Linked DNA regions of Homo sapiens: region 1 is linked to region 2. The links are contacts of gene promoters, found by promoter capture Hi-C in blood cells and fetal thymus (Javierre and others, 2016). All regions are on one chromosome and are shown on one strand. The core of a region is centred on a gene start or on the middle of the fragment in contact, and the rest is flanking DNA. Distances in the headings are between cores, read along the strand shown.

What was found. Contacts are between HindIII fragments. The CHiCAGO score rates a contact against its expected background, and 5 or more counts as called.
Region 1: a contact is called between a fragment that was not itself captured here and the fragment with the promoter of SMAD2 in region 2, in 1 of 17 cell types (neutrophils). The highest score is 5.5, in neutrophils.

What each region holds. Positions count from the first base shown.
Region 1 is chr18:51,034,909-51,038,612 of GRCh38, reverse strand. All of the region lies in intron 1 of SMAD4 (SMAD family member 4), which reads right to left. Among named protein-coding and RNA genes, the nearest start is that of SMAD4, 6.5 kb to the right of the region's middle. The HindIII fragment of the contact is 9,660 bases long and covers 1-3,704 here.
Region 2 is chr18:47,928,729-47,932,182 of GRCh38, reverse strand. It overlaps SMAD2 (SMAD family member 2), which reads left to right and starts at 1,524. Exons shown (of 11, transcript NM_005901.6): 1 at 1,524-1,822. RefSeq lists silencers at 606-1,535, 1,566-2,095. The HindIII fragment of the contact is 8,478 bases long and covers 1-3,454 here.

The sequences.
Region 1 (3,704 bases), core at 369-2,868, 3.1 Mb before region 2:
TGCTATGATATGTTGTTTTGTTTAAAGTACATGAAGAAAACGTGTCTCACATGGACAGCTAATTGGAAGAGAGGAGTATTTTAACAGCCTTCTCAGAAAACAATGGATATTCATCTTTTATTCAACACCAAAACTCAAGTGGCAATTCTGAAAGGTTAGTTGCAATGTGGAATTCACTGTATCAGTGAACTTTTTGGCTCTGGTGTATATAAAAATCCATTTGTCTATGTTGTACTTTGAACGGATCGCCTACCCATGCACGATTTTGTAACATGAATTGGTCATTTGGGAAAATATTGGTTCAATGAGTTACACAGATCTTCCCAGTGTTGACACACTTCCTCATACTGCCCCCCCCCCCACAGTCTCGCTCTGTAGCCTAGGCCCGAGTGCAGTGGTGCGATCCTAGCTTAATCCAGCCTTGAACTCCCTGGCTGAAGCAATCTTCTCACCTCACCCTCCTGAGCAGCTAGAACTACATGCCACTACACCTAATTTTTATATGTTATTGTAGAAACAGGGTCTCGAACTCTTGGCCAAAAGCAATTCTCCCACCTCCGCCTCCCACAGTGCTAGAAATATGGGTGTGCATCATCGTGCCCAGCCCAACATATTTTTTTTAATCACATTCCTTAATATCACCACCCATCTCATCAGAAAAGTCTTTAAGTATTAAGAAACTGGCAAGTCATAGTGACAGGAGTTTCCCAAAAATCTGATTTTCACTTGAAACATCAGATTTTAGCACTGGCTATAAATGTTCTCCTCGAAGTGGCCAGCTCACTTTATTCATTTCCAAGGAATTACCTGCCAAATACTCAAATCTAAATAGCTATCTGAGCTTATCTGTCATCCTGTTAAATAAAAATAAAAATGGTGTCCCACTAAAAAGCAGCTAGTTCAGCTTGCAGCTCAATAACACAAGTGCTTTTCCTAGAAAAGAACACTGTACTTCAATGTGCAGAAATGCTTTATGCATACTTCCCATTTAATCACACTATTAAAAAGACATACTCCAAGGTAGAGATTTTTTTAAAATTAAACCTTTTTACTGCTGCAGCAAGGGGATTATTAAGTGAAACCGGCATTTTTTCAAATGCTTATGTGTGTTTGACTATAAAGAACACAATGAGGACTCATATGTTTGGTATAACTGCCTAGAGTCATTTTAAAGTGCCAGCAGTTTACCCACCACTGCTCCTTCACCACCCATACAAATGTCCTCACAGTGAAAGGGCAAATAACGTCTCAGTTTCATTATGAAAATAATTTTGATTTTGTGAACCCCTTAAATATAAGGATCCTAGGGATCTCCAGGAGTCTGTGGACCATACTTTGGGAACCACTGTTTTAAAAGATGGTGGAAACCAAACTGAATTTTAATAACTGATAACTGAAAAATACATTTTATAAAACTTTTTTTGTTTTTTTGAGACAGTCTCGCTCTGTCAGCTAGGCTGGAGTGCAGTGGCACAATCTCAGCTCACTGCAACCTCTGTCTCCCAGGCTCAAGCAATTCTCTTGCCTCAGCCTCCCAAGAAGCTGGGATTACAGGCATGTGAGTAGCTGGGATTACAGGCATGTGCCACCATGCCCAATGAATTTTTGTATTTTTAGTAGAGACGGGGTTTCACCATGTTGGTCAGGCTGGTCTCAAACTCCTGACCTCAGGTAATCCGCACCCCCCTTGGCCTCCCAAAGTGCTGAGATTACAGGCGTGAGTCACCGCACCCGGCCTCATTTCATAAAACTTTTAACTGAAGCAGAGTTTCAAGTCATCTAGCTTATTCCTTCAAAGGGGGATGTATCAAAATCCCCCGCAGGTTAGGCCAGCTCCACTAACTAGAATCAAGGGTGGGGCTGTACCTTTAAAAAACACTCTGGAAGTCTGAGGTACTGTTAGTTTTACAAAGCATTGATCTAGTCTACAATCTTTACTTTACAAATTAAGTATCATGAGTATATGCAACTGATTAAAAAGACTAATTATATAGAAGTTGTATCATTTTTCCTTACAATTAGCCAGCCCCTTCATTATTTCAGCATCTATACACATTCTTCCTTCAACTAGTTTTAGTAGGCATATTTATGATGTAAGACACACCTAATGTGTTTATGTACAATGATTCCTGGCTTAGCTTACCCCATTAAATATTATTTCCGGTCATCCTTTCACTAGATTATTCAATTTTTACAAGGACTGCCCATCTACTGATAACATATGCTCTAGAATTCACTAGTGAATATCACTGACAAATATCCTTAATTCATCTTATATTTAGAAATACATTTTGACTTGAAAAGACCTGAGTAGCATACATTCATCCATATTAACATACAGAAATAATACCTTACTATAAAAATATATATTCGGTAGCATTCCTAGTTTTAAATCATAAATAAGATTTGGCTAGCCTGGGCAACAAAGCAAGACCCCCGCCCCCCCATTTCTACAAAACAGTTTTAAAAAAATCAGCCAGGCGTGGTGGTGCCGGCCTGTAGTCCTAGCTACTCTGGAGGCTGAGGCAAGATCTCTTGAACCCAGAAGTTGAAGGTTATAGAGGGCTATGATGATGTTACTGCACTCCATCCTGGGCAACCTGTCTCTAAAAAATAGATAAATAAAGCAGTAAGGATAAGCATACCAAAATAAACAAAACCTTTAGAATCAAGAGGCACTTTTTAAAAATAACACAGATTCCCATGCCTCCTCCACTCCATTCCCATTCTGAAGCAGCATGTGTGTTGCAATCAGATGGGAAAAAATATTTTTATTTTTTTAAATAGCTCTTCCAGAGACAGAGATGAAACTACTCCATAGCCCAGCACTTGGGAACTACTTCAGGTGATGTAAATGGAGAGCTGAACATGCCCTAGATGATCTCTACAGAAGTACTAGCTAGCTGGCCTAGCTGAGCAAATGTCTCACAGTGTATTAATTAAGCCCTGACAGAAAAAGCCCAATGCAACCTGCCTCTCAGAAACCAGTTAAGTGACTAGTTAATTGGGGGCTTGAAAATGTAAGGTTTACCAAGTAGATTAACGCCCTAAGAAGACAATTTGCATTGGGAGTTATATTTATTTATTTATTTATTTATTTTAGAGATGAGGTCTCACTTTGTTGCCCAGGCTGGCCTTGAAATCCTGGGCTCAAGTGATCCTCTTGCCTTAGCCTCCTGAAGTGCTGAGATTATAGATGTGAGCCACCAGACCAAGCCCACAGGGAGTTCAGATGCTAACTTGGGGACTTAAAGTAATTAGTCTCCAAAAGGAGTACAAGTAAGCATTTGAGAATATACTTTAAAAGAAAATCAACTTCCTATTTAAAATAGTGATGATATACTAACTTCTCATCATGGGAAATACAGCTTCCTAAAACTTACTACCAGACAGTTCAAATAAACTGAAAGTGAAGAAAGAAACAGAGGAGAAAGGAATAGGTGACAGGAAGGGGGAGAGAAAAGAAAGAGACAGACACAGAAGCAAAGCAAATGTGGCAATACTTTCAAAAGACCCGTTAAGTTAGATGTGTGAGATGGCTACACTGTACATGTGTGTAACACTGTATTAAAGAATGTAAAGCTAACACAAGTGAAACAGTTCAAAAGAAAAAGTCAGAGGACCCTAATGACTCAATCACTGCGGAGGGCTAACCTGGCTGCACCCTAGACCAACCAAATCATAATTTCTGGGGCTAGAATTCA
Region 2 (3,454 bases), core at 275-2,774:
ACATGAGAATGAATTACTGGACAGGCAGCCAAAAAAAAACTGTGTTCTAGTCTTGTCTCTGGCACCTGTGTGAAACCTAAGTTTCTTTTCAACTTTAGTTCTACGGTACTCCCTGCCTGTGTCACAGTGGGTGCATAGTAAACACCTGATGTGATTAGTTGGGCTCAATATTTTGTCAGCAGAGGCTTGGGTGTTCCTAAGGGTAACCGCAACAAGGTTTTCCCTGGGTGCAGTTATGTTCTGGGCAGCCGTAAGTTTAGGGCCTTGCTGCCTCCTGTAGGGCAGATGTGCAAGTTGGGGCCTAATCGTCGCAACAGTGGAGAAAAGGGGAAGGGAAGATATCCCAGCCATTAAGGGACATCGTGACAGATGTTTCTTTTAGACTTCACAAAGACCCTTCGGGACATGGATTATTGATATCATTTTTACTGAAGACGGAACCAAAATTTAGGTTAAACACTTATACCTGGCATCCCCTACCCGGGCCCTAAGTGCTCTCCAAAGACCCCACCTCTGGGCTTATTTACATCGCGAACCCGCCCTCGTTCAGCAACACGAGGGCCCCGCCCGCTCATTTGCATAGGGCGCGCCCAGTCACGGGCCGGGTCCTCGGGCTTCTCCCGAACCCCTTTTCTCTCTCAGGCGCGTCCTCCGCGCTGCGCGGGGCCTCCCCGTGGGATGAGCACGTGTCCGCTGCCGGCCTCACGACGGACGGTGGACGAGGCGGCAGGCCCCTACAGGCCCCACCCACGACGCTGGCGAGGGATCGGGCGGTCACCGGGAATCGTCTTAATGCGCGGCAAGGCGCGGGCCTCTCCCTCTCCGCCCGTGAGCCCCGGTGGGAGCGCGCCGGCGCCCAACTCAAGCGAAACCGCGGGCGTCCCGCCCCGCCCGGCCGCGCCCCGCCTCGCCTCACGCTAGACTGGGGAGGCGGGACCAATCAGCGAGCGACGTCTCCCTTCCGATTCGAGGCCCCCGATGCGCGGCTCACACCCCGAGCTTCCCTCGTGCTGATTGGCTGCGGGCGCCGCCGGTCCGGCCGGGAGGCGGGGCGGGCCGTAGGCAAAGGGAGGTGGGGAGGCGGTGGCCGGCGACTCCCCGCGCCCCGCTCGCCCCCCGGCCCTTCCCGCGGTGCTCGGCCTCGTTCCTTTCCTCCTCCGCTCCCTCCGTCTTCCATACCCGCCCCGCGCGGCTTTCGGCCGGCGTGCCTCGCGCCCTAACGGGCGGCTGGAGGCGCCAATCAGCGGGCGGCAGGGTGCCAGCCCCGGGGCTGCGCCGGCGAATCGGCGGGGCCCGCGGCCCAGGGTGGCAGGCGGGTCTACCCGCGCGGCCGCGGCGGCGGAGAAGCAGCTCGCCAGCCAGCAGCCCGCCAGCCGCCGGGAGGTGGGTGCGTGGCGCCGCGGCGGCCGGCGGCCGAGGGCGGAGGGCGGAAGCGGAGGTGGGCTGGCGGGGGAGGGCGCGGCCGTGCGGGCGGCCGGTAGGGCTGCGGGCGCGCGCCTGAGGGGAGGAGGGGCAGCGCGGGCGCGCGCGTCCTCACCCCCTCCTTCCCCGCGGGCGGCGGCCAGGCTCCCTCCCCTCCCCTTCCCTCTCCTCCCCTCCCCTCCCCTCTCTTCCCCTACCCTCCCGCGCGCCCGGGCCGCCGGCCGGGCCCGGGCCTGGGGGCGGGGCGGGAAGACGGCGGCCGGGAGTGTTTTCAGTTCCGCCTCCAATCGCCCATTCCCCTCTTCCCCTCCCAGCCCCCTCCATCCCATCGGAAGAGGAAGGAACAAAAGGTCCCGGACCCCCCGGATCTGACGGGGCGGGACCTGGCGCCACCTTGCAGGTAAAGCCTGGGCGCCCGCGGGCCTCCAGCTAGGGAAGTGTTTGCGTGCGTCCGCGGCCGGGGCGATGGGCCGTGTCACATGGCCGCTGCGGGTGGGGGCTGGGGTGTGGTGAGTTCGGGGGCTGTGGGTGCGCCGGCCCGGGCGTGCGGGTTCGGGGCCGGAGAGCCGGGAAGGGACGGGGCTCGGTTGCACTGCGCTGCCGCCCAGGCTGACGGGGGCGGGGGCTGCCTGCGTCCCTTCCCCTCGCTGCTCTCACACTCCATAGTTTGTGGTTCTGATTTTTAAAGCCGAAGGGCCAGAGCTCTTGTTTCAGGAGTTGTGGGGAAGCCTTGTTAGGGACGCGTAATACTTTGCCTCCACTTTTTTTTTTTGGTCTCGTAACCTTTGTTAACAGTGGTAGTCTCGGGTTTTCCATGGCTTGTGTGTACTCACAAACACGCACACAGCTGATAACTCTGTGATCATCCTTCACTCACTTGTGAAAGTTGTTCTGCGGGTGGAGCCTATTAGTTTTTATCACACGCCTTTGGAAAGCCCTCGAAGTGATTTCTCGTATTTCAAACTTGGTTTTTAAAATTGCAACTTACTTTGTTCTCTTGGAGGGGGATATTGTCTTTGGGTCAGGTACTTTTGTCTTTTACTTATCCTTAAAATGTCCTTTTGATCCTAAACAGAAAAAGAATGCCTGGGTTGGTTTTGTTATTCCTTTCTCTTGACCCTTTAAAAGCAAAATACCACCAGTGTGTTGTCAACCATACCTTTAAAAAAGAAATTTCCAGGTAAAACGAATTTGCAAGCAGCATTTTCCATCAAAGTCATGTCTTGTTTGTTGCAATTTGGACTATCTTAAATTTGGGTTTGTGAAACTTTTAAAACGACATGTGTAAAATAATTGTTAATAAATAAATAACTTGGAATAATTACATCTTTTTAGAAATGGTCTTTGAAATGTGATTTAATTTCCAAAATTCTTTTTCTCTCTTCTGACTTCATATGAATTGAACCTGATAGTTTCGTATGAATGAATCGCTGATAGGATGTTTTCCTTGAGCCTAGTAATAAATTTGCTCTTATTATGCTGAAAATTTGCTATTCTACTTTAACACCCTTTAAAAAGTTTCCATCTTACAGAGAAGTTAGTCAAATAGTTAAATGGAGTTTCAACAGTTTTAATACATGAATTAGTGAAGCAGATGAAGCAGAGATGGGAGAAGTAATTTAAAATGGGCTTCATAAATGTACCATAGTTTGAGGGTATTTAAAAAATTTGCCTTCGGAAAACCCATACAAGATATTTAAAGAATTTCCTCTGCCAGAAGGTCATTTAGCAAACGTTTATATTAAATTCAAAAGTAATACTTTTATTTTTAAAGTTCCTTAGCCGTTGCCGTAAACTTAGCTGTCGTAGTAAATATAAATAGTTCACATCTTTCGGCATTTCTAAAGAGTGTGCCCACTTTTACTATAAATATTAAACTCTGCTGGATTTAATTGAGTTCAAGGCTGTTCACTGGCCAGGTTTAATTAATGTAATGTGATTGGAAACGTTCATTTTGGGGTTTTAGTAAGAAATTGCTCTTAGAGCTTGGTTTTTATACTTAGCCACACCTTCTAAAGTGCGGCCACAAGCA